Regions from separate parts of the Homo sapiens genome. Here regions 2, 3, 4, 5, 6 and 7 are each linked to region 1. Evidence: promoter capture Hi-C in 16 types of primary human blood cells and fetal thymus (Javierre and others, 2016). All regions are on one chromosome and are shown on one strand. Each heading gives the region's core, a stretch centred on a gene start or on the middle of the fragment in contact. The rest is flanking DNA. Distances are from core to core; before and after follow the strand shown. Region 1 holds the start of ATXN2L (ataxin 2 like). Region 2 holds the start of RNF40 (ring finger protein 40). Region 3 holds the start of SRCAP (Snf2 related CREBBP activator protein). Region 4 holds the start of TBC1D10B (TBC1 domain family member 10B). Region 5 holds the start of C16orf92 (chromosome 16 open reading frame 92). Region 6 holds the start of HIRIP3 (HIRA interacting protein 3). Region 7 holds the start of TAOK2 (TAO kinase 2).

Region 1 (3,449 bases), core at 511-3,010:
AGATCAATGCTACAGTATTAACCAAAAAGCCACGCCAGCTGTGAGGGCAAAAGCTCCAGGAGTGCAGCTTTGGAACTACCTAGCTCAGGTACATTACCTCCCAAACAGAAAAGACAATCATTTTCAGCAGCCTGACGCCTCAAAACTGTGGGAGGAGGGGTATCCCCTCCACACCCCATCCCCTCGACCTCATGACTCATTCAGCCCGTTACCCACTCTGCGGGGATCACCAATCGCCAGGTAACCCTGCTCGTCGCTGGCTGATGTAACCGGCGGTTGAGGGCGAAGAGGGGGCCGCTGGCGGGGCTGGGGGACAGCGCAGCCGCAAAAGCCATCCACCGGGAGGCCTCGCCCGGTCTGCGCCTGCGCACTAAAACCCACGGGACTTTCCGAACCCCCACCTCCAGCGATCAGAGCCCACTGCGCCTGCGTGTGCTGCCACTCTTAATTCCATTAACACACACACACTCGCACAGGAAAAACTGAGCAGGGCCTCCACTACTCATGCACTGCCACCAGACGAGCCCCTCCACGAACTAGTCCCTGCCCTAGGTGTTCCCGGGGCGCGCGAATGCCCGGGTCATGAGACCGAGCATCCACGCGCACGTACGGGAAGGGGGCGCGCGCGCCAGAGGCTCCCGGCCCGCAGTCCTCCCAGTCATCCCTCCTTCCGTCCCCCCGCCCACCTCGCTCCCCTCCTACTGGCCAGACCGGGAAGGGGGAGGCAGCAACCCGCTCCCAAGTCCCTCCCTCCCCATTGGCCAAACTGTGGGCCGCGCGCCCCCCTCCATTGGCTACGGCCGGGGACCCCTTCCCGCAGCAGACTCCCCATTGGCTGAAGCCGGGGACCGCGAGACCCTTCGTGGTAATGGAACCGGGGACCCCGATCAGCTCCTTGCCCCCCCCCAACTCCCCGTTCCGACGGCGCCGGCGGGATGCGCCCCGCCTCCCCTGAAGGCCGGGGCTGCGAGCCCTGACTAGGCCCCGAGAGCCGAGCGCGGCCCCTCAGTGCTCCGGTGGCCGCCCGGGGACCCTTTCCGTCCGACCTGTTCGGACCTGAGGGGGCCCTCCCCCAGCTTCACGGGGACTCCCCACCCAGCCGGTGCCCCTGACGGTGCCGGGTCGGGGTCCGCCCCACCGGAACCGAGCCACAGCCTCTGGGTGGCCGCGGCTCCCTCGCCCGGAGCCCACCCTTCTCACCTGGCGCTGCCGATGGCGGCTGCCCCCGGCCTCTCCTGGTGTTGCTGCGGCGGCGGCGGCTGCGGCGCCAAGATGCCTTCGGCTCCCCGGCGGAGCCCGCTCCCGGCAGCGGCCACAGGCCCCAGGCAGGGGGAGGCGGCCGCTGGAGGCCCGGGAGGAGCCGCAGAGGTGGCCAGCGGCCCCGGGAGGCCGCCGTTGGGAGGGCTGGTGCCCCCGGGGGGCCGACGGGCCACGGCCTGTTGCGTGGGGGGCGGCTGCTGGGGCTGGGAGGGCTGTTGTAGCGGCTGAGGCTTCAACATGATGGCAGCGTCCGGAAGGGGAATTAGAGAGAAGGGAGGGAGAGAGGGGGCCGGGGCTGGGGCCCCGCTGGAGAGCGCGGGAAGCGAGGGGGATCGGGCAGCCGGGGCCCGCCGTGGGCGGGCGGGGGGAGCCCCGCGGTGTCGGGGGTGGAGAGAGAAGACCGCGGCGCGAGGAAGCGCCGCGAGGCGGAAGGGGAGGGGGTCTCGCGGCTGGAGGAAAGCGAGAGGGCGCGAGCCGGGCTGGCGCGCGTGCGCGTCGCCGGGGAGCGGAGAGGGAGGAGCGCGCGGGTGGGAGCTCCCGGGGGGGGGGGGGGGGGGGGGGGGCCAGGAGCGAGCAGTGGCGCGAGGTGCCGCGCACACCGGCGCGGTTAGCTCCCGGCGGGAAAGTGGGAGAGAATCAAGTCGGTGAACCTCGCACCCCTAGCCCTGGGAGTGGGTAAGGAGCGGCGCGGGCGCTCACGCGCGCCAAGGATTTAGGGTCTTAAGGTCTCAAACCGCCTTAGAAGCCGGCGGCCGCTGTCGCTTCACAATGAGCGTGTGAGGCGCAGGGGGAGGAGCCGAAGGCGCCAGAGGAAGGGCCGGCCTCTCCGCCCACGCCGTCGCTGCGTCGCGATGCCTCCGCGGGAGTGTGAGGCGGCACGTCGTGCGTGAGGCTCTTCCGCCACTTGGCGGCCCGTGGGCAGAGCCTTAAGTGCCAAGAAAGTCTCCGGGACTGGACCACCCGAGCCACTGCGCTTTTAGGCAGGTGGTAGGTTTCGCAAGGAGCTACCCTCCACCTTGTTTGCTTTAAGTAAAAGACTGATGAGCATTAGTGATTCGTTTGAGCGTGTTGATCTTTGCAGATAAATTTACGCCTCGTCCTAAATTATTTCAGATTTTTGTGATTTTGACCTAAATTGTTCCTCCATGCCCGAGAATGAATCTTTAAACTGTAATAACAAAGACTGAAGGCCAAAGTTCCGAGTTCAAAATCCTCCACCCGACCCTGCAATGAAGGCAGCTTCATTCATTCAAAATGAGTTGGGCATTGGAGTATTCAGTTAGTTGTTTTGGACACAAGGATAATTAAACTGCTTCCTGCTCTGGAGGAGTTCATGCTAGTGGTGAATTCAGAGAATTTGACGAGATCTAGTAGGTGAAGCACAGAGGACTACAAGAGCAAATGGGAGTGACACCTAATCTTAATCCAGTTTTGGGAGACCCAGATAAGGGACAGGAGGGCCGGGCGCAGTGGCTCATACCTGTAATCCTAACATTTTGGGAGTCCGAGGCAGAAGGATCGTTTAAGGCCAGGAGTTTGAGACCAGCCTAGGCAACAAAGTGAGACTTTGTCTCTACAAAAAAAAAAAAATTTAAATTATAAAAAAAAACTGATAAGAGGGCAGGGGGAGATGGGTTTCTAGGCAGGGAAATAGGATATGACAAACTAAGAAAAACTCAGCTTGTCCTAAGCATAAAATTAAAGGGGGGAAGAGGTAGCTAATCTGGGATCAGGTTTTAAAGGCTCCCAAGTCTTGTAAGAGACACGGACATTATCCTCAAAGCAGTGGGGAGCTTATTTAAGAAAGTGAAAAGAGGCTGGGCATGGTCTGTAATCCCAGTACTTTGGGAGGTTTGAGGTCAGGAGTTTGAGATCAGCCTGGCCAACATGGTGAAACCCTGTCTCTACTAAAAATGCAAAAATTAGCTAGGCGTGGTGGTGCATGCCTGTAATCCCAGCTACTCAGGAGGCTGAGGCAGGAGAATCACTTGAACCAAGGAGGCGGAGGTTGCCGTGAGCCCAGATCGCACCACTGCACTCCAGCCTGGGTGACAGAGCAAGACTCCTTCCCCCCAAAACAAACAAAAAAACAAGTGAAAAGAGGTCAGATTTGCATTTTTAAAGGTTTACTCTTTGCAACGTGGAGAATGGAGTGGAGCTGTTAAGTCCATGTGGTCTTAATCCCAGCG
Region 2 (3,449 bases), core at 706-3,205, 1.9 Mb before region 1:
CTCCAGCTCCACCTCCTCACTGCTGCTGGCACCCAGTGCCACCACAAAAGCCAAGGCCGGCTCACTGAGAGGGGGCCGCAGCTGCATCAGCAAGGGGTCTGGAAGGAATGGACAGACCCTCATGAGGATAAGAGCAGCAGTTACTACCACTCTGTACCAAGTTCCAGACTGAGCCCTTCAATACTCATGGTTCACTTAATCAACACAACCTATAGTGCACTATTATCTCCATCCTGAAAGTGAGACAAATGAAATTCAGGGAGGTAAAGTAATTTCCTCAAAGCTACAGAGTTGCGTATCACATCCTCAGGGAAGCTTCCTGTACTTTACCAATATAATTAGAATCACACGCACATGCATGCACACACAATCATTCCGTTTCAGGAGCCCCAGTACTTTCTGCTTACTATGTTTATAATTTCCTCCCTTATAGCAAGTGCAACACTCATTTCTAGGAAGCGTCAAATACATATTTAATACTCAACCATAATACTGTTTTGAAACAAATGGGTGTCAAAACATGAATTGCTCTATAAACCAAGTTAGTCAGAGTCTAAAGCCTGTGTTTTTGTGCACTGCACTTTACTGCCCAAACATGAAATCCATTTCGTGAGAAGTAGTAAGATAGGCAATTCAGGGGCCCAACACCAAAGTCCCCTCCTCCCCAGGACTTCTCCCAGAACTTAAGCTCCCCAGATCCCAGCACTCTGGTCCTACCTCTCAGCTCTGATGTCCCCGGCTCTGGGAGAGGAGTCCCATCACATGTTGGCCCCTCCTGGGTCCCAGGTGCCTCAGGCGCTGAAGACAGCTCCCCCTGGCTCTCATGGCATCGGAGAAGGGCTTCCACAGTTTCATCCAGCTGGAAGGAGAAAACATCAAAAATGTTATGAATCCCTTAGTGCTTTCCAACATGATACTCCTTTCCTAGCAGGGGAATCTGGGGATTGGCAGCTGAATCAAGGCCTGGTCTTTGAAAGCAGAAGGTATCCACCTGGGCCCAGTAGCGATTGACGATGAGGAGTGTGGCATCATCTGTGGCCTGCCGCTTCTCCAACTTCTCAATTCGTTCTCGGAGTTCATCTTCACAAGCCTGCCGTTGTTCCAGCCGCTCTGCCAGTTTCTTGTTCTTGAACTGTAGTACCTTCAGGTCCATCTCCTCCTACCAAAGGAAACAAAGGGGCCGACGAGAGCGTCAAGCAGGGCCCACAAACCAATCACAGAGAGAGAAAGAGGAGCAGAGCATCTGCAATGCATGGGAGATGGAGGTATTCCCACACTAACCGCTAACAGAATCTAAGGAGGCTCAGACAACACACAGCGAAAGTGTCTTTGTTGTGAGGAGGCTCACGTTGTTTCTGCCTGTCCCCTTGTAAATCCTTAGTCTTTGACAAGTCACACGCCCCCTGGAAACCTGTTTTCCTATCTGTAAAGGGAAGACAGGCGTCGTGTTCTGAGCTTCTTTCTAACCTTTCTTTCAAGGTCCTGTAACGCGGACCTTGCTAAACTTGGGGAAGTGGGTGTAAGATTCCGCACAGTTTGGCCAGAGAACAGAGGGAGGGCTCTGGGAAGTTCTGAGGGTTAAGGCAAGAGCCCACGAACCGTGGAAGAGATGCCTCCAAGACGAATGGGCTCGATAAGAGTCGTGGTGGTCTTCTCCTCACGACTCAGCTTCTTTTCCGGGGGCCCTGAGCCCCCGTCGCCGGCGGCGCGTTTGTTGCCTGGCCCAGACATGGCCGCGGCGGCTGGAGCGATGCAGGGTCCCCTGAGGGGCGTCAAACGGGAGGAGGCGGTACTTCCGTCACCTGCAGAAGACACAGAGCAGAGATGTGGGAACGGCTGGTGTTCCACAGCCCCAAACACCCTCCACCCTGCACACACCTGCTGGATCCCGTCCCCCCCGGCGCCAGAGCCCTCACCAGCAGGAGGGTCAGCCTAGCGCCGCCATCTTGGATTTCACCGGACGTCACTGGGCGTCACTGGACGCCACTGCCCCCCCCCCAACGGTGCGCAGGGCGCAGGCGCCAAAGGCAGCCCCGGATGTGAGGAAACTTCTTTATCTTCTGCTTCTATTGGTTACGCTTGGTCCCGCCACTCGGGTCCTCTGGCTTCTTCCCAAACACCTCCTCTTTCTCTCGGTGATTGGCCAAGAGGCAGTTCCCATAGTAACTGACACCGCGCTCCCACTTCCCAGCCTGGAGGACAGCACCGGCCCTCGTATTAGCAACCTGGAAGAGAGGGCGCCCAGGTGGGCACTCGCAACTTCTCACGTATCTGCGCGTTCTCTTCGCTCCCACTGGCGTGAGCCTGCGCTTTCCGCCTTCCTTCCCTCACAAGCCCCCTTGGCAACCGTCGCCGTTGAGACGGAGGGAGACGCCCCCACGGATTCGCCCCGCCGCGCCTCTCCGCGCGTAGATTGGCCGGAGCGAGGCGAACGGGCCCGGCCTTGGTAGCCGCCGACCGAGCGCTGGCTGTCCTGGAACCTAGGCGGCGGGAGCCCGGGGCGCCTCGCGGCACGGAAGAGCGGCGAGATGCTCAACCGCAAGACCAGCCACTTTTTGGGAATGAGGGTGCAGTCGGAGCTTGAACATCTCTCCGAGCTGCGGCGGGAAGCGGGGAAGGATCGCAGCTCAGTGCATGGGTCGGCCGCGCGGACGCGTGCGAGTGTGCGGACTCAGTGGACGACGGCGGCGGCGGCGAAAGCGGATGAAGACCCCGGAGCCAACTTGTTTCCGGTGAGGGCGGGACAGTCTGGTCTGCTCGTGAATATTTATAAACCGGCTCCCCCGCAGGCGCCACCTGTCATTATGCTTACTAACGTTCGGGACGTCTCCCGGGCTGCTTGGGCGAGGAGAGGCAGGGGTGTGTGACCCCGGTGGTTACTGTGCTCGCGTAGAGCACCTAGGGCCTGCTGAAGCCCTCCCTCGCCCGCGCCTCTCCTTAGTCCTTGAGATGAGATGGCAAGTTACAGCGGCTTCTCCGGCCTGCTGGAGATTCGCTACGGGCCAGGACACCGCAGCTGCCTTCCCCAATTCGCTTTCTTTCCGCAGCCGCCGCTGCCCCGACCCCGGATCTGCATGTGGTGAGTGTGAAGAGACAAAAATTACACTGAATATTTGCGTTCTTTATTGTCTCCCCAACAGTCCTGTCTGTGGCCAGGGCATCCCCATTTTACAGATGAGACTGAGGCCTGGAGATGCAATTACTCCAGGTGACTGGAAGTTGGCTTTCCAGCCTCTCCAGTCCAAAGAGGAGGCAGTGTGAGAAAAAAAGAGCCAAAGACAGAATGTAAATGGAGTCTCATGGCCGCTAAGGAGTATTGTACAGAGGGGGACACTGAGGGCCACAGGGAGTACTTGACCAAGGTCATACAAGGTAGTGGCAGAGCAGAAAAAAGAATTCAAGATTCCTAACCCTAGGCTTTAGAAATGGAGAGGCTCATAAGAGTTCAT
Region 3 (3,449 bases), core at 607-3,106, 1.9 Mb before region 1:
CAACAGACCTGATATACTACAGCCCAGCCCCCGAGCACCAAAGATTCTCCAAAACTCTCCACAAATATTCCCCTGCCACATTTCTTCTGCCTCACACTCAACAATCCACAAAGCAGAAGCAGAGAAGGAACTCTTCCCACTTTCAAACCTGTGTCTGTAGGACTGGGAGCTGAGGGTGAGCAGGGGAGGGGCTGCTCTGCATGGTCCCACTCCCAGGCTCCCCCTTGGATGCCTGAAGAATGACTGGGTTGTTATCACCAGTACTGCTGGCCGAGGGGCTGGCGTCCGGCTGCAGGGCATGCTGGGAGCTGGCCTCATTCTGGGCCACCGGCCACCGGGACCCGCCTTCCAGGGCCCGGGGCCCACCAGGGCGTCCCAGCCTCCGCTCAGGTCCACCAGCCTCTGGAGCACCTAAAGTAGGGTTAAAAAAAAAAAAAAAGACAGAAATGCAGTTAAAGGGGATGAAAAAGTATTTTTAAAAAACCAGAAATAACACTGAATAAAGAGAAACACAGAAATTACAGGTTACATTTCTTGAGCACTTACTATGTATAAGATACTTTTAGTACCTGTTTGATGTGTTCTATAATCCTCACACCTACCTTAAAAACCAAGTGCTTTTCACAGCATAACAAATATTGACTTCCTCCTACACACAACGGATATAGCCATGCAGAAAGGATTCCCGACCTAAATGTAGCTTACATTCTAATATAATCTGTTTTGTAAGTTACGAAGTTAAGACCTTATGATTTGCGGAAGGTTACACAGTAAAAAAGTGATAGGAGGGCTTCAATCCACAGTCTGATGCCAAAACCAAGGAAAACCTGCTACTCTTCCTGGTAGAGCCAGGTTGACCACGTTTTCCTCAACCCACAGCCTCAGTTCTGTTGTTGTACTATAATCAAACCCTCTACAGAAAAATCACATGCAAACATTCCCATGCTTCTCTAGAGTGAAAATCCCCAATACGGACCTATAATTGCTTTATCTCAAACATTTCTCCCATTAGCATCAGCACACAAAATGGTAGCAGATCCCTCACCTGTGTGAGCTGAGACCACACCCCCTGTGAAAGTCTGCACTTCCACGGTGCCGCCGTACTGAAGGGAATCACACCTGAAACATCCATCAAAGCGTATTATTTACTCCAGTTTTTTGAGACGTTTAAATATACCCAAATCAGTTAAAAGACTAGAAACAGAAAAACTACAGTAGTAGGAAAATCTCACATTTCAGGGAAATGCAAATCATGTTTTGTGAATTCCGGAGGGACATACGATCCTGCCTGGGGGCAGGAGCAGGAAAGGAGTGAAGAAAGAAAGTTCAAAAATTTTAAGTGTAAAGGCTCCAACCACAGAATGGAAGACAAAAAAAAAATACAGCAAAAAAAAGCTGTCACATCCAGAACCTCAGAAAGGTGCTACCTGCCTGCGGGCCTTTCCAGTGAGGGCTGAACGCAGAAGTGAGAGTGGAACTCCCGGGAAGAGTCAACAAACAGGCTGGTCACAGGAAAATCCGCCCAGGATTCAGGGCAGGGCGCTGTATATCCCATACCTGCGCCTTGAGACACTTCCCCAAATACAAGAACCACAGCAAAAGGAGACTCAGGAGCAGTCAAAAGCGAGAGGCCGCACTGCCAAGAACCACGCGCCGGAAACAGGCAGTGTGAACCCGCAGGAGGCCCGGAAATGCTTCCCCAGTGTTTAAGGAAATTCCTAAACCACAGTGCCGGCTTTGATTCACTCCCTACTCCGCCACACGTTCCCAAGACCCGAGCTCACCAGAAGCCAACAAGCCTTAACTCTTGACTTCAGGTTTCGTGACCATCTCCCTAGCCCTCCCGACGGACTGACCTCGCGTGACCCCTGACCTCTGCCCAAGTTGCCACTAGCCCTGAGATAGCCCCGCCCCCTCCAGACTCCCACCCCACCCAACGTGCGCGCCGGGCGGGGGAGGGGCCCGCGCGTGCGCGGCTGGAGGCGGAGCGAGCCGGCTGCGCGCACGGCCCAGGGGCTCCCGCCAGAACCCGAGCCCACGCACACAAGGGTCGCGGGGCTGGGAAGCTCGTCATCCAAGCCCGTCAGGGAGCCCCCCCATCACCCGACCGCGAAAGGCTGAGAGAAGGGAGGGTTCGTGCCACCAGGTCCTGGTCCCCCGGCTAGATGTGGTGGGCGCGCGCCCCGACTACTCGTCCCACGCCCCCCTTCCTCTTCCCGCGCGCCCCTGAGGGGTGACTGGGTTGGTGGGCGGGCAGGAGCGCACCTGGGTCCGTCCTCTCAGGGCTCGCTCGCTCGCTCGCTCGCTCAGGCACGCGTGCGCAGAAGGGCGGGAAGGGAGAGGAGACACGCCGGGGCCCAGCGCCGGCCGGCCTGACCCCCTCAGTCTGTCTCTATGGGCGCGCGCCGACAGCCTCGCGCACCGGCCCCGGGGCCCCGGCTGAGGGTGCGCGCGCAGCACCCCGGGAAGGTGGGGGGGAGGCGGTGGCGGAAAGATGCGCGCGCAGTCAGCCGTCATGGGAGGGGGAACTGTGGGGCGTTCGCCATCTTGTCTCCCTCTCCTTACCTGCGTCCTCGGGGGCGTGCGCACCACCCCCCCTCCCGCCTAGGAGGGGGGAGGGCCCCCTCTTGGCCACCGCCTTCGCGGCCTTTAAACTCCCCTGGAGACTGCGGCTACTGCCACCGCCTTGCCTCCACTGCCTCTTCGCGCAGCACACAGATGCGGACGGTGGGTGGGAAAAAGGGCAGACGCTACTCCCAGCGAACCGCCGCTGCCGCTCCCGAGGCCTCACCAAAATGGCCGCCGCCGTCTCGGCCGCCACCACCACCACTACCACCACCACTCGCTCGGAATCGCTATCGCCGGCGCGGCCCGTCTTCTCGCGAGAGACAGTAACTGGAGGGTGGGGGAACGGGGAGGCTCGCGTGCTAGCGTAGGGTGCAGCACGGTGCGCAAGGCAGCCTGGGAGGTGTAGTCTCCCAGAGGCTGCGCGCTCGCCCTTCCTCGGAGCGCCTTTACCGTTTGCCCCTAGATCTACCTGGGGCTGCATTGCGGCTGCCAGCTCGGACCACCGCCACCTCCCTTTTTATTTACAGATCACCCAGTAAGCTGCAGCAAGTTAGCAGTGGAACCTGGGCCTCCCGATTCCCATGGCAGCCCACTTCTGTAGCGCTGCTTCGTTTTACGCGAGGATGGTTTCCTGATAGCTTTCAAACACCTTTGCCATCTCTTCGCAAACTTTCTAGATTAAGAATCCCTTTGAGAATCTGATACCTTTACCCCAGAATAGAACAATAAATAACAGCTACCTTCTACTGACACTACTTGGTGCCTTGATTATTTCTTTTAATCCTAACTGCTCCATTTTACAAACGAATTGAGGCTCAGGCGTTAAAACACAGTGACAGATCCTGAAGTCAAGATTCCTAGCCAAGCAGTCTAAGCCACAA
Region 4 (3,449 bases), core at 457-2,956, 1.5 Mb before region 1:
GGTCCAGGCCAGGGAGGAGCCCACTTATTACTGGGTTCTGGGAGAGGAGGAGGACTCCAAAAAGGGGAATGGGAGGAGAGCTCAGGAAGCTTGGGTCAAACGGGAGATGGGAAAGGTGAGGAGAAGGAGATCAGACACTGAGTGGGAATTGACAGGACATGGGGCTGAGTTGGGAGTGAGGGACCTTAGAGGACTCAGAAACCAAGGAGGAGCTGAGAAGTCGGGAGCTAGGTCTCACTGGAATTCCAGGATGGTGGATGCTATATGGAAATCAGAATATGGGGGTCAGAGAAAGAAGAGGGCGTTTAGAAGTTGGAAGGTTGGAGCTCATAACGTCAGGTCTTTATGCTTGTGATCTAAGGACAACCTGGAGCGCTCATGAGATTGAGGTCGGGATTCTCAGTGGAACATGAGGAGCACAGAGGGATGTGGCAGTGAGGGGAGAGGGGTTGACGGGACTGGGGCCTTGGATCCCCAAAAGAATAGTAACACACATATGGGGAGTTCATGGTATTAGGGATTCATGGATTTGGGGTTTGAGATCCCCACTAGAAGAAATGGAGGGGGTACTCAGAGGGATAAGGTCTGAGGAACTGGAGCCTGGGTTCTGGGGAGGAGCTCAGATAGATGGGAACTGAGGAGAGGGACTTGGAGGTTGGGATTCCCGCAGGAAATGGGTGAAGCAGAGATATGGGTTGCTTATAGGATCTGGGGGCTCTGGCTATTGCCACCTGGGCCTGGAGTGTTGGGGTTAGTTGGGGGCCGAGATCGGAGAATTATAGAGTAAAGGATGAGAGTACTGGGTCAGGGCACTGGATCTGTGGTGGGGCTCAGGGTCCCACAGACCACCAGAGTGTGGGGCTCAGGAGCTGAACGAAGAATAGGGGACCGGAAAGGACTCGAGAGGGGGCAGCGCGGCACTCATTGGTTGAGGGCTGCACTAATGCCCCCGCCCCTTCTCCGTGCTGTCCCCAGCTGTCACCCTCCCATAAGGCTTGTCTCCGGTTGTCACCGACTATCCCTGGGCTGGCACCGCCTGCTGGCAGCATCTTTGCCCTTTGGATGCTCCCATTGGCTGAGACAGCTATCTATTTTCCTGTCCTGTGGCCAAAGTGGGAGAACACGATCATTGGCTGACGGGGCGAATTAATCTCTAGCTTGCCCCGCCTCCTCCCAGCTGTCATTCCTTACTGACCATTTTGGGAGACCTAAAGAATTCTTCAGCTCTTCCTATTGACTGCGGATGCTGTCTGTCACCGCCTAAATAGACATCACTGCCTGTCAATTTGACCTCCACCTGCTCCCCTTTTCATTGGCTCCCTTTTTACCATTCCTATTGGTTAAGAAGCCTCCAGGCCCCACCTCTTACTCGCACAGCCCTGCCTCCTCCTCCGCCCTTCCGCGGTCATTCACCCTTCAGTCATATTCATTGGCCAGGAGGTTCAGACCCCTGCGTTTCTATTGGTTATTTCTTTCGTCCCATCGCCCCCTGCCTTTCCTCGTCCTCTGATTGGTCTTACAGCCCTAGCTTTCTCCGTTTCCTCTTTCCAGATGACCCACCCCTTTTTCGCCTCCAGCCCCGCCCACGATTCCAACGATTGGCAGAAGCCCAGTTCTCTCTCTCCCACTATTCGTCCAAATCCTCTGACTAGGCGGGAGAAAAAAGGAGCGCGATGAGCCAGTCCGCGCGCAGGCGTGGAACGCCGAGACGCTGGCGCGGAGCCGGCTCTGCGGCGTGTGCGCAGGCGCGAGGTCGGCGGCTCGCCCCCAAGCAGGAGGGAGGGGGCGGTGGCGAGAGCGCGCGAGGGGGTGAGAGGGCTCGAGAGAGACCCCGGCGCGCGGCGCCCCCCGACCCCTGCCCCGCCTCTGCGCGCCCAGCGGCCGCTCCGCCCCCGGCGCGCGCCGAGCCGCGCCCTTCGCCCTCTCCCCTTTCTCGGCTGGCCTCGCCGGGAGGCCCGAGGGGCGGCGCCTTCTGCGGCCTCCCCGGCGGGGGGATGTGAGGGGCGGCCCGCGGCCATGGAGACGGGCACGGCGCCCCTGGTGGCCCCGCCGCGCCGTCATGGCGCCCCCGCGGCCCCCTCGCCGCCGCCCCGGGGTTCCCGGGCCGGGCCCGTCGTGGTGGTGGCTCCGGGACCTCCAGTGACTACGGCCACTTCGGCCCCCGTCACCCTGGTGGCCCCCGGGGAGGCGCGGCCCGCCTGGGTCCCGGGGTCGGCCGAGACCTCTGCTCCGGCCCCGGCCCCAGCCCCGGCCCCAGCCCCGGCTGTCACGGGCAGCACGGTGGTGGTGCTGACCCTGGAGGCCTCGCCCGAAGCCCCAAAGCCGCAGCTCCCCTCCGGCCCGGAATCCCCAGAGCCCGCGGCAGTGGCTGGAGTTGAGACATCGAGGGCTCTGGCCGCAGGGGCAGACTCGCCGAAGACAGAGGAGGCTCGACCCTCACCCGCCCCAGGACCAGGGACCCCCACCGGGACCCCTACCAGGACCCCTTCCAGAACGGCTCCTGGTGCCCTGACCGCCAAACCCCCGCTTGCCCCCAAGCCGGGAACCACAGTGGCCTCAGGAGTGACTGCACGGAGTGCATCAGGACAAGTGACAGGTGGGCATGGAGCTGCCGCAGCAACATCAGCATCAGCAGGACAGGCTCCTGAGGACCCCTCAGGCCCTGGCACAGGCCCCTCTGGGACTTGTGAGGCTCCGGTAGCTGTCGTGACCGTGACCCCAGCTCCGGAGCCTGCTGAAAACTCTCAAGACCTGGGCTCCACGTCCAGCCTGGGACCTGGCATCTCTGGGCCTCGAGGGCAGGCCCCGGACACGCTGAGTTACTTGGACTCCGTGAGCCTCATGTCTGGGACCTTGGAGTCCTTGGCGGATGATGTGAGCTCCATGGGCTCAGATTCAGAGATAAACGGGCTGGCCCTGCGCAAGACGGACAAGTATGGCTTCCTTGGGGGCAGCCAGTACTCGGGCAGCCTGTGAGTACCAGTGGGCACCCAGCGGGACCGCCTCGGGGAAGCAAAGGTTGGGGGAGGGCGAAACGAAAACGATACACTTTGCCCAGACTCTGGCAGCCCAGCCTCCTCTGAGGATCCACGGGGTGATCAGCGCGAGCTGCCGTGTCTTGAGCATCCTGAGGTGCCTGTGACATTGGCATGTTAGTGGAGTTTCAGACCAGGGGTCAAGAGGTCTGGGTTTAAGCCTTGCCTTTGATGGGTTGTGTGCCCTTGAGCTAGTGGCTTCCCCATTTCCGTGCCTCAGTTTTTTCCTCTATAAAGTGGATTGAATGAGATGATACCTGAGGTCATCCCTGCTCTTTGATGGGGAACTCCAGCTACAGGCCGGATATTCTGGAGGGTTGGTTGGGCGAGGGTTCTGGTAGAGACCCTTGGTCCCTTAGGGTGGATAGCCTGGGAGGGGTGCAGGCATCTCCCTTCCCCCATAGCCCTAGGTCC
Region 5 (3,449 bases), core at 601-3,100, 1.2 Mb before region 1:
GAGGCCCCATCTCTCGGGGACTGAGGGGGTGGAGAGAGGGGACCTCTTCCCCCTACTCTGCCCCCTTCCTGCACACCCTTGCGCTGGAGGAGGGGAGGGGGCACCGCCTCCCACCCACTGAGGGCAGGAGGGCTTGTGGGGAGGGACACCAACAGGGTTTCAAGGGGACCAGGAGTCAGAATGTGGGGAGACGCCTCTGCCAAGGCCATCCCAGCCCCTATGCTGCCATCCCCCAGGGCTCCCCATCACCCGAGAGGAGAGGACGCCCCAACTAACCCCCGCTGGCCCTCGGGCCTCCCGAGTGGCCGGCTGCAACCACGGCTCCTCTCCAGGGTAGGCCAGCTTGAGGAATCTTATTTATTTTATTTATTTACCCAAATTTGAACTAGTCTGTTGGGTTGGGGGAAGGAGGTGGCTGCTACCCCCAAGCCTTCCCAGTGCTGACAACCCCGGGGGCAGGCGAGGGCGCCCAGTCCCTCACCATCGGCTGCACATCGCGCCCTCGGGCCCTGCCATGTCCCTGGTGCTACTGACCTCTCAAGGCTTCCTCCAATCTGGGGTCGGGGGACCCTGGGAGGTGCTTTACAGACCGCTAATAAAAGACGATCTGCGTGAACGCCACCAAGGCCCTTGCCACCAAGTTCTTTGGGGCTGGGAAGGGAGGAGGTGGGGGGCTTGGGCCATGGGAAACAGAGGGGACAGGATCCCCAGCTGCTCGCTGGGCAGTCAGGGAGGAGGAAAGCAGGGAACTTTTGCTCATCAACAGGAGAGGAGGTGGGTGTGGGTGCTCAGGTTGAGTCCAGAGCCCTTGTCCGGCTCTTTAGGCCCCTTTCTGGAAGTTTCTGTGGGGCATGGAGATCAGAGGGGAGAGGTCACAGCCTGCCCCGCTAGAACTGGGGTCTTCAGCCGCTCCCAAGGAAGGTGGTGGTGGGTGGGGTTGGAGAAAGGGGGCAGGCCTTACATGTGGGTGCAGAACTGGAAAAGGAGAAAGAAGAACGCCACCACCAGCAAGCCCACCAGGATGTGATGGAAGAGCCCGGGGCTGGAACCTGCTAGACAAACAGGACCCTTAACTCCCCTCTGATGGCCCAATGAAGGGTCTGGGGCTGCTCTCCTCCAGACCCTGGCGGGGAGGGAGGTCCCTTCTCAAGCTGGTTCATACCTGAGTTAATGAACACGATGGGTTTCTCTCCAATAAACTGGGCCACAGCCAGCAGCCTGGCTTGGTCTGAGTCCGGATAATCGAAGAAGTCAGGTCTGTCTAAGAAGCGCGGAGACTCTGTCCCCAGGGCTGACGCCGTGGCACGCTTGGGTCTGGGTGCTAGGACCCAAGCAAACTCTGTGACAACAGCCAAGCTGACCCCTGCCTTTATCTCTCGAGGCGGAAGCTGACTTGGGACCCTGTGAGACCACCCAGCCTTATTGCAGAGGCTGTGGAGGGTCTTGATTTCCCTCAGGGTCAGCTGGGTGCACCACGACAAGGCTCGCGGTTGTTGGGGGGTAGGTGGGACCAGCAGGATGGGAGAGAAGAGTGGAGAGAAAATGAGAGGGTGCAGGGTTGGCTTCCGAGTCCCTAAGTGGGCATCACACTTTATGCTCCCAGAGCTGCCTGCCTTCCTGCTGCTCCCAAGACAGCTTCTTACCAGTTTCTATGGCCCCTAGTGCAGCCAGCCACACCCACACCAGCACCCATGGCCACAGCCTCATGACTCCTATCATGAGGTGGGGGCTCTGTGATGTCACAGCCCAGAGCTGTTCTGATGGCACTTTGGGGTGAGGGGAGAAAGTGCTAGGAGCTGGGACCCCTCCCCCATCCCTCACTCTCATCAGAAGAGGAGAGGAGAAGAGAGGTTGGGACCAGTCTTCACCCCCTGGAATGTCGCTGATGATAAAACCATAATGGTGGCAGCCCCAGCATTTACAAAGAGGAGGGATGCGGCACGGCCATCTTGCTGAAAGCCCGAACTAAAGGAAGCTGTGTTTGGACAACAGGCACAATTTGGGGTGGTGGCACAGGGCCACACACCTCCGGTTACCCCTTGGATCAACCACAGGTAACATTTGTTTTATTTATTTTCATTTTTTTGGAGACAGGGTCTCTGTCTGTCACCCAGGTGGGAATGCAGTGGCGCCATCTTGGCTCTCTACAGCCTCTGCCTCCTGGGTTCAAGTGATTCTCTTGCCTCAGCCTCCTGAGTATCTGGGATTACAGCTTTGGATAAATCCCTTCCTTTTATCTGTCTGCCACCACACCCGGCTAATTTTTGTATTTTTAGTAGAGACAGGGTTTCACTATGTTGGTCAGGCTGGTCTTGAACTCCTCACCTCAGGTGATCTGTTCGCCTCGGCCTCCCAAAGCGCCCGGCCTATTTTATGTATTTTCAGAGACAGGGTCTCACTCTGTCACCCAGGCTGGAGTACAGTGGTATGATTACTGCAGCCTTGAACTCCTGGCCTCAAGTGATCCTCCCACATCAGCCTCCTGAGTAGCTGGGACCACAGGCATGTGCCACCATGCCCGGCTAATTTTTGCATTTTTTGTAGAAATGAGGGCTTGCTATGTTGCCCAGGCTGGTTTCGAACTTCTGGCCTCAGGTGATCCTCCAGCTTCGGCCTCCCAAAGTGCTGGGATTACAGGCATGAGCCACCATGCCCAGCAGGTAGCATTTATTGAACACCTATTACTATGCTGGCTGGACCCCATTTATGGCCAAGTACCTTGCACAAATTTGTTCATTTGCTCTTGCACTGACCCTCAGAGGCAGGTACTCTTTTTTTTTTTTTTTTTTTTTTTTTTTTTTGAGATGGAGTTTCACTCTGTCCGCCAGGCTGGAGTGCAGACGCACAATCTCAGCTCACTGCAACCTCCACCTCCTGGGTTCAAGCGATTCTCCTGCCTCAGCCTCCTGGAGTGGGATTACAGGCGCGCACCATCACTGTTCGGCTGATTTTTGTACTTTTAGTAGAGATGGGGTTTCACCATGTTGGCCAGGCTGGTCTTGAACTCCTGAACTCGGATGATCCGCCTGCCTCGGCCTCCCAAAGTGTTGGGATTACAGGCGTGAGCCACCAAGCCCAGCCCAGAGGCAGGTACTCTTGCCTCCCTTATACACGGGAGGAAATCACGGCACAGAGGGGAAAAGTAGTGTGGGCAATGCACACTTCCTGGGGGGGGGGTTCCTCTCTGAGGCTCCCCCTTGCATCCTATCCGCAGATCCAGGGGCACAGGGCTCTCTCCGTCCTCCCCCGCCCCCTCCTTAGTGCTCAGCCGGGAACGACCCTGGGGTTAGGAACCGAGAGGAGTAGCAGGCGTCTCCCACTAGGTGGCAGCAGCGGCCGCGCCTGAGTCCACGCTCCCACCCTAGGAAAGGCGCAGCGGGGCGGACTCCCGGGCCTCCTCCCGCCTCTTCCACAGGTTGCATCCGCGGCTGCAGGAAAACGGATGGCTG
Region 6 (3,449 bases), core at 603-3,102, 1.2 Mb before region 1:
TGGCTTTTAAGCTTTTAAACGGTTGGAAAAAAAAAAAACTAAAGAAAAATTTTTCATATGGAAAAATATGAAATTCAAATTTCAGTGCCTATAAAGTTTTATAGAAACATAGCCATACTCATGTATTTGCCTATGGGGTACGGCTGCTACTACAATGGCAGAGTTCAGTAGGTGCTTCAAAGATTGTATGTTGCAAAAAGCTTACTTACCATCTGGCCCTTTGCAGAAACAATTCATCAACCCCTGTTCTACTATAATCATTACCGCATAACTGTTTTCATTACCTTCAAGTCCTTCCTATGACCTAAAATTCTAGTCTATTGTCTTCATTTACTTATTCTTCCCAACTAGAATATAAATTACAAGAGGCCAAGGGCTTTGCCTATCTCTGCCTCTGCTGTATCCCCTGTGCCAAGCACAGTGCCTGAAACACAATAGGTGCTCAGTAAGTGCCTGAATGAAAGAACGGTGGAGGTGGAAGGCAAGCAACTAGGCTTAAGGACCACTGGGGGCTGCATCAGCCACCACTGCCTAAAAGGCGGGGGCCCAGGAAGCTTGCTAAGTACCAGGAACCATGCTCTCCACCAATTTTTGAAGACCTTGCTCACCCGAAGAGTCTTCATCCACGTTCTCGTACTGCAGAAGTCGGTCTAGGAGGAAACTGAGGGGAGGGAAGGAGACACGGACAGTGATTTTCCAGCGCAGCAATGTCCTCCTGGGTACCTGTCCCTCCCAGCTGGCCCATCGGATACTTGAAAGAGCCCATGCACTTGTGGCCCTACTCGGGGATGGGGTCCGAATGTAGATTTCCTAGGAAGCACATCGCCCTCCGCCCCTGCAACGTGCCTCACCTCTTGTCCCGGGACACCTTCAGTAATTTCCTTTGCGCTTTCCTCAGCTCCTCCTGGAAGCACTCGTGCTCCTGTATCACGGGCAAGGGGTGCGCTGGGCCAACGGTCCTCCGTGAAGGGCCCCGGAACCAGCGGCCGCTCGCCCCACCCACTTTACACCTGGGTAAACTGAGATCTTGTCCGCGCCAGGCCTCATCCCCCACAGCCTTCCCGCGGCAGCACTCACGTAGATGAGGAACTTGAGCTTCCGCTTCAGATTCCGGTATTTTTTTTTGTAGTCCACTTCGCCGTCCGCCGGCCCGTTCATGACCGGCCCGGGAGTGGCGCCCAGAGTCTGCCCTCCCGCTACCCCAAGCAGTGGCTGCCGTGCCGCTCCCGCCTCCACTTCCGGAGACGCTGCAAGGCTGTGCCGTCAGGACTACAACTCCCGGCGTACCCCGCGCTCAGGGGCGTCACCGCACGGGCCGACCTCCCGGGGGACACTGGGACAGGAGCGCGGCAGCCACTGCGCTGGGGATGGCGTAGCAGCGACGCGGTGACGCCACAAAAATGGCGGACGCTGGAAAGCGCCGTTCCTGACTCTAATGTACTTAGACACTTGAAGCCACAAAAGGATTTATCCCCGAGGTTCCTCATCTGCTCGCGAGGATGCCTTTTCTCTTCTGCCTTGCGAAATAACAGCAGCCTAGCTGTTGCCCGTGACCAGTGAGAAAGGCAGCGTCGCGGGCTGATTAGGTTTCACCCAAAGGGTGCCGGCGCCGAATTGGTTTCTAACGAGAACTTTTAAAATGATCCGTTCCAAAAAAGGGTAGGAGCCGCGAGACCCTCCAACTGCCCAGAGAAAACAAGTCTCGTCTGGCAAAGTTCTCGGCCCACGCGGTCCGCGGCCAAGGGCCAACGGTCCCTCGCCCCACGTTGCCGCAGCACTGCGCGTGCGCGAGCCGCTGTCAAACGCGCTGACGGAGGCCGAGAAGAAAAAAAGGCGGGAGCCGTCAATCCCGGGTTGAGCAAAATGGCGCGGGAGAAGGAGATGCAGGAGTTCACCCGTAGCTTCTTCCGAGGCCGCCCGGACCTCAGGTGCCCAGGGGGTTGGAGATGGGGTTGGAAAGGGCGCGGGTGGGTCGGGACTCCGTCCTGACACCATGTCCCTGCAGCACGCTTACGCATTCCATCGTGCGGCGGAGGTACTTAGCTCACTCGGGCCGCAGCCACCTGGAGCCCGAGGAGAAGCAGGCACTGAAGCGGCTGGTGGAGGAGGAGCTGCTGAAGATGCAGGTGTGCCGGGCCGGAGCCTGGGCCGCGGGAGGCGGAGGCGGGGCTTGCTGCTGAGGAGGAGGGGCCTGACGGGGCGCGGTGAGCGCAGCCTTGGTGCATAGTTTGCCCTCTTGGCGCACACACAGGTGGATGAAGCCGCTTCCAGGGAAGACAAACTGGACCTTACCAAGAAGGGCAAGAGGCCTCCCACCCCTTGTAGCGACCCGGAGAGAAAAAGGTTCCGCTTCAATTCAGAGTCGGGTTAGTGCTTCCTCCCTGCTGTGGGGGCCTTCTGCATCGTTGGTTCACTCAAGAAGCATTCACTGCGCATCTCTTATGTCCCCAGGCGTTAGATGAGGGAGCAAGGCTAGTGAGTCAGGAACCGGGAACAGCAAGTACAGATAGCTGTTTCCTGCTGCCCCTCCAACTGTCAGGGCAGGGCTCGAGGCAACCTATCCGAAGTGAAGGGAGAAGGGACAGGAGGAGCCTGTCTCAACCCTCTCTCCTCTCCATATTCCAGAGTCCGGCTCTGAAGCCTCCAGCCCAGACTACTTTGGACCCCCAGCAAAGAATGGGGTGGCAGCAGAAGTCAGCCCAGCCAAAGAGGAGAATCCAAGGCGAGCCTCAAAGGCAGTTGAGGAGAGCAGTGATGAGGAACGGCAGAGGGACCTGCCCGCACAGAGGGGAGAGGAGAGCAGTGAGGAGGAGGAAAAGGGGTACAAGGGGAAGACTAGGAAGAAACCTGTGGTAAAGAAGCAGGCACCAGGCAAGGCCTCAGTCAGTAGGAAGCAGGCCAGGGAAGAAAGTGAGGAGAGCGAGGCAGAACCCGTTCAGAGGACAGCAAAGAAGGTGGAGGGAAATAAAGGAACTAAAAGCCTGAAGGAAAGTGAACAGGAGAGTGAAGAGGAGATCCTAGCCCAGAAGAAAGAGCAGAGAGAGGAGGAAGTGGAGGAGGAAGAGAAAGAAGAGGATGAGGAAAAGGGGGATTGGAAACCCAGAACCAGGAGCAATGGCCGGAGAAAGTCAGCTAGGGAGGAGAGGAGCTGTAAGCAGAAAAGCCAGGCAAAGAGGCTCTTGGGAGACTCAGACAGCGAGGAAGAGCAGAAAGAGGCAGCCAGCAGTGGGGATGACAGTGGGAGAGATAGAGAACCCCCAGTGCAGAGGAAGAGTGAGGACAGGACCCAGCTTAAGGGTGGGAAGAGGTTGAGTGGAAGCAGCGAGGACGAGGAAGACAGTGGGAAGGGGGAACCCACAGCTAAAGGCTCTAGAAAGATGGCCAGACTGGGCAGCACCAGTGGTGAGGAAAGTGACTTGGAGAGGGAGGTAAGTGACAGCGAGGCAGGG
Region 7 (3,449 bases), core at 360-2,859, 1.2 Mb before region 1:
CCCTGGCCGAGCCCAAACTCAGAGGAAAAGAGATGGCAAGAACCAGGCATGCATCAGGGAAAGATGTGATTGAGGACTTGAGTTCAAATTCTGGTTCTGCCACTGTGTGACCTTGGGCAACCTCTCTCGGCCTCAACGTTCTCAACTGTAAAATGGGAAGATGCCAATAAAAGAGGCCCCCACAGGGTGAATGCGGGGATGTCACATGAGAGAATGGCTGTCAAAGCACTTTGTAAAAGACAGATCGTTTGACAAATGGATGAGATTATTGACACCATCACAGCAAGAGGTTGGAAGGTAACTGCAGCTGGGGGAAAACATTGCCAGGCACCTCCAAGCACACACACACACGCATACACACAAACACATATACACACACTTCCTTGCAAGGACAAGAAATCCAACCAGACCAGGCCTGAAAAGCAGATAAGCAGACCCACCATGGGAATCAGAGGCATGGGAATCAAAACCACAGAATAGCCAGGAGAACGGGACATATCAGGGAGGAGAGGTGGCTGTGAGGGGCAAAGTGAAGGAGAGAAGACTGAAGTGCAAATCCATCTGATTAGCTGAAGCACCCTAGGGTGTGAACGCCGGTGACATCAGAGACCCTGTCACCTGAGGTCCCCCACCAACCAGACACAATGAAGGGAAGAGGAAGGGGAAGGGGGTGGCAACAGAAGGCAAGGCTAGCCAGAGGCTGACCACTCGCTCAGCTGGGCTTCCCCATCCTGAGAGGGCCTACCCAAGTCCAGCTTCTCAGAAAGGCGCACCCTTTCTTCTCAGAACTAGACACAGGGACCCGCGCCCCTGCACCCCGTGTCTCACCTGGTAGGGGTCACTATGGTGCCCCAGCGCCTCCGCTTCCGCCTGGGGTCCTCCAGCGGCTCTGCCAAGCAGGGAGAGGGGCAAGGAGACCTTTCCCCTTGCCACCTCTTCCTCGGCTTTCGCCCTTCCTGAGGGGCGGGCCCGGGAAGCCTCCCCTGGAGGGGAGGGGGTGACAACCTAATCTGACCTCGCGGTCCAGTCCTCCCCCTCGTCGAGGGCGACAGCTGCCGAATTCCGGATTTCTGATTGTGGGGTCTGAACCCCGAATATCTGAACGGGATGGAGACTGAATCCGATATTTGAACGCCCGGGGAATGAACCCCGGATACTGGTGCACGCAGGGGCCTGAACCTGATATTTGAAATTCTATGAAACAGAGACCCAGGTTTAGAGAGGTTGGGACCCGAGTCCCGGATATCTGGACTATGAGGACTGTTACCCGGGTATCTGAGAAAGGAGGAGGGGCAAAGCCTGGAAATTTGGGACCCAGGGGCCTGAGCTGTAGGTCTTCGGCCACCGACTGGGGGCCCACCCCGAGGACGTCCGGCCGCACGGCCCCTCTCACGCCGGGGTCCGAGGGTGACAGCCCCCACTCCCGCCCCGGCCTCCTCCCTCTCCCTTCTCTCTTCCGAGAATAGCTGAACGATTGTAGCTAAGGTGCTGCTGACGGTCCCCGCGCCCTCTCTGCCTCTCCTCTTCTCCGTCTCAGCCTCTCTCCGCACCACAGCCCCGGTCTCGTCCCGGTCTCCCTCTCCCTCTTCCTCCCAATTCCAAGATGGAGACCGGGCGGGAGCGCGCAGGCGCGGTAGGGACGCCGGGCTAAAGGGGGCGGGGGCGCAGAGGACTCAGCCCCGCCCTCTCTCCTCACTGCCGCGGCCTGGGAGACCGGCAGCCGCCAAGCCCGAGTGCGCGCCCGCCCCGCCACGCGGACCCCAGGCCGGAGGAGGCGGGGAGAAGAGCTAGACTTGCAAGGGGAGGAGCCCGGCACTCTGTCCCACGACTGGCGGTGGACAGAGCTGCAGCGCATGCGCTCGCCCCGCCTTCGCTCTGAGCCCGAGCTTGTTGCTAGGGGAAGCTTTGAGGGGGCGCGGGTGGACGGACAGCAGCGGCGATCTGCGACTGCGCGCAGGGTGGAAGTTGGGAGGGGCAAAGGAAGCTGCTGCTGGGCGCGGAAAAGGCGGGAAAATAGACTGCTCCGAGGTTAGCAACCATCTAACCTGGAAAAGGGCCTCCAAGTGCGAGGAATCTTTGCGCGTCGACGCTGGGAAAACTCAATCGGTCAAATCTCTTACGGAAATTGAGGCGCTGCAGGTTGCAAGACTTGCCAAGGTCACAGTGCATTTATGTCACAGCATTTCCATGACCTGACACCCCACCCGCCCAACTAACTGTAATTATCCATTTTATTTCGTAGAAGAAAACAAGACAGGTGTTTACCAAAGCCAAGTCAACCATGGGGAGAGCTCAAGTAACCTATGCCCTATGCCAACCTGTGTCCAAACTAGAGAGTCAACAGGAAAGAGTCCCCCAAAACTTCTAAGCCTGCCTACCCTAAAATCCCCACCTCAATCCAACCCCCAATAAACACCATACACGCCACTGGGCAAAAAAGCTTTTTATTTTCCCCCACATTCCAGCTCTTCACTTTTTCTAAAACCTTTTCCAACTCAGAGCCAAGGCCCAAGAAGTTGATTCACACCTGGGGAGAAAGAAAATAAAACAACAAAACAGGTCGAAGAGCTGCTAGAGGAAGCTCTGAGATGTGTGCAGAAATTGAGGAAGGAGCAGAGGGAGTGACAGCTAGAGACCAATACGGGCATTTAATCCCAACTAAGGTAGCCTCAGGACCCCAGGGTCTGTCAGGGGCCAGGAAGCCCTCCTTTCCCAGTCCAAGGTTGAGAGGGTCCTGTCATTTCCTGTCCCAAGTAGGTGGTTGGGGCATTTAGGCCCAGCCATCAGCAAAATAAGCACAGTTGATCTTGAGCTTCCACTTCCTCTGGCCTGATCAGTTCCCTGGGCCTCAACTATTTCCACTTTTCCCATAGTAACTTCCTAGGGCACTGCAGCCAGCTGAAGCTGAGACCAGTTCAAGAGCTGGATGCATAACACATGGCTCTCAAATTTCATGCACCCCCCTCTGACAAGTGAAGATTTTTTGCAGAAATATTTTTTCCTTTAGTGAGCTGATGTGTGAACTGGTTAACCAACATGACCCCCACCCACTGCTACGTTTGTGAAGCTGATTCCCTCCAAAGATCTTGTTAACGGAATCAGCTTTTTCTAAAGGTAACGATGACTAAATGGAAGACAGAAGGTGCATGTCAAGTTCTTGGGCACATACTATGTCCCCAGTAAATGAGTATCATCAGTTAGACTCTTCTGAGCGGTTCAAGTTGAATTTTACAAAATTTCCATCATAAAACTGGGTATTGGAATTTCAGGACAAAAGCAAGACAAACATGGTTCATATTCAGGACAAATCATCAAATGTGAACCCTCTTAACTCACCATTGTTACCCAAATGCTTGGATGTGAACTAGTTATGAGTCTTAAAATCACAATGTTGCTTGAAAGAAGTCAGCCACAAAAGAATGTGTATGATTCTGTCTACATAGTTTCAA

The links. Contacts are between HindIII fragments. The CHiCAGO score rates a contact against its expected background, and 5 or more counts as called.
Region 2: a contact is called between the fragment with the promoter of RNF40 here and the fragment with the promoter of ATXN2L in region 1, in 6 of 17 cell types (monocytes, total B cells, non-activated CD4 T cells and 3 more). The highest score is 9.7, in monocytes.
Region 3: the fragment with the promoter of SRCAP here is called in contact with the fragment with the promoter of ATXN2L in region 1 in 2 of 17 cell types (non-activated CD4 T cells and total B cells); the score reaches 7.1 in non-activated CD4 T cells.
Region 4: a contact is called between the fragment with the promoter of TBC1D10B here and the fragment with the promoter of ATXN2L in region 1, in 3 of 17 cell types (total B cells, monocytes and fetal thymus). The highest score is 6.4, in total B cells.
Region 5: the fragment with the promoter of C16orf92 here is called in contact with the fragment with the promoter of ATXN2L in region 1 in 2 of 17 cell types (total B cells and fetal thymus); the score reaches 5.2 in total B cells.
Region 6: the fragment with the promoter of HIRIP3 here is called in contact with the fragment with the promoter of ATXN2L in region 1 in 6 of 17 cell types (fetal thymus, monocytes, naive CD8 T cells and 3 more); the score reaches 16.1 in fetal thymus.
Region 7: the fragment with the promoter of TAOK2 here is called in contact with the fragment with the promoter of ATXN2L in region 1 in 1 of 17 cell types (non-activated CD4 T cells); the score reaches 5.9 in non-activated CD4 T cells.

What each region holds. Positions count from the first base shown.
Region 1 is chr16:28,821,310-28,824,758 of GRCh38, reverse strand. ATXN2L (ataxin 2 like) reads right to left here and starts at 1,760. Exons shown (of 22, transcript NM_007245.4): 1 at 1,201-1,760. The coding sequence starts at 1,499. It overlaps LOC124903672 (a long non-coding RNA gene), which reads left to right and starts at 717. Exons shown (of 2, transcript XR_007065042.1): 1 at 717-865. RefSeq lists a silencer at 554-1,703 and enhancers at 2,024-2,233, 1,745-2,481. The HindIII fragment of the contact is 7,883 bases long and covers 1-3,449 here.
Region 2 is chr16:30,760,828-30,764,276 of GRCh38, reverse strand. It overlaps RNF40 (ring finger protein 40), which reads right to left and starts at 1,955. Exons shown (of 20, transcript NM_014771.4): 1 at 1,917-1,955; 2 at 1,600-1,802; 3 at 992-1,159; 4 at 718-859; 5 at 1-98. The coding sequence starts at 1,731. It overlaps PHKG2 (phosphorylase kinase catalytic subunit gamma 2), which reads right to left. Exons shown (of 10, transcript NM_000294.3): 10 at 3,101-3,449. It overlaps CFAP119 (cilia and flagella associated protein 119), which reads left to right and starts at 2,215. Exons shown (of 9, transcript NM_001014979.3): 1 at 2,215-2,732; 2 at 3,048-3,079. The coding sequence starts at 2,529. RefSeq lists enhancers at 1,637-1,746, 1,867-2,126, 1,614-2,251, 2,207-2,386, 2,977-3,126 and 2 more and a silencer at 2,663-2,892. The HindIII fragment of the contact is 4,015 bases long and covers 318-3,449 here.
Region 3 is chr16:30,697,578-30,701,026 of GRCh38, reverse strand. It overlaps SRCAP (Snf2 related CREBBP activator protein), which reads right to left and starts at 1,856. Exons shown (of 34, transcript NM_006662.3): 1 at 1,785-1,856; 2 at 1,046-1,119; 3 at 149-411. The coding sequence starts at 202. LOC730183 (a long non-coding RNA gene) reads left to right here and starts at 1,967. Exons shown (of 2, transcript NR_144637.2): 1 at 1,967-2,146; 2 at 3,096-3,320. RefSeq lists silencers at 1,836-2,065, 2,206-2,615 and enhancers at 1,785-2,079, 2,736-2,925, 2,956-3,045. The HindIII fragment of the contact is 7,629 bases long and covers 1-3,449 here.
Region 4 is chr16:30,368,751-30,372,199 of GRCh38, reverse strand. TBC1D10B (TBC1 domain family member 10B) reads left to right here and starts at 1,706. Exons shown (of 9, transcript NM_015527.4): 1 at 1,706-2,972. The coding sequence starts at 2,017. It also overlaps a transcript of MYL11 not described here. RefSeq lists silencers at 1,821-2,110, 2,201-2,280. The HindIII fragment of the contact is 4,560 bases long and covers 92-3,449 here.
Region 5 is chr16:30,021,599-30,025,047 of GRCh38, reverse strand. C16orf92 (chromosome 16 open reading frame 92) reads right to left here and starts at 1,850. Exons shown (of 4, transcript NM_001109659.2): 1 at 1,644-1,850; 2 at 1,163-1,321; 3 at 962-1,049; 4 at 344-842. The coding sequence starts at 1,707. The coding sequence ends at 821. It overlaps TLCD3B (TLC domain containing 3B), which reads left to right. Exons shown (of 5, transcript NM_031478.6): 5 at 1-621. It also overlaps a transcript of DOC2A not described here. The HindIII fragment of the contact is 16,537 bases long and covers 1-3,449 here.
Region 6 is chr16:29,994,020-29,997,468 of GRCh38, reverse strand. HIRIP3 (HIRA interacting protein 3) reads left to right here and starts at 1,852. Exons shown (of 7, transcript NM_003609.5): 1 at 1,852-1,928; 2 at 2,006-2,126; 3 at 2,252-2,366; 4 at 2,626-3,449. The coding sequence starts at 1,864. INO80E (INO80 complex subunit E) reads right to left here and starts at 1,228. Exons shown (of 7, transcript NM_173618.3): 1 at 1,078-1,228; 2 at 852-922; 3 at 609-661. The coding sequence starts at 1,158. RefSeq lists enhancers at 1,145-1,274, 1,335-1,504, 3,361-3,449. The HindIII fragment of the contact is 4,684 bases long and covers 557-3,449 here.
Region 7 is chr16:29,972,028-29,975,476 of GRCh38, reverse strand. It overlaps TAOK2 (TAO kinase 2), which reads right to left and starts at 1,609. Exons shown (of 16, transcript NM_016151.4): 1 at 829-1,609. TMEM219 (transmembrane protein 219) reads right to left here. Exons shown (of 6, transcript NM_001083613.2): 6 at 2,429-2,527. LOC124903762 reads right to left here and starts at 1,855. Exons shown (of 2, transcript XM_047435036.1): 1 at 1,697-1,855; 2 at 842-1,480. The coding sequence starts at 1,855. The coding sequence ends at 842. RefSeq lists enhancers at 519-648, 355-1,126 and a silencer at 1,550-1,919. The HindIII fragment of the contact is 1,984 bases long and covers 1-1,905 here.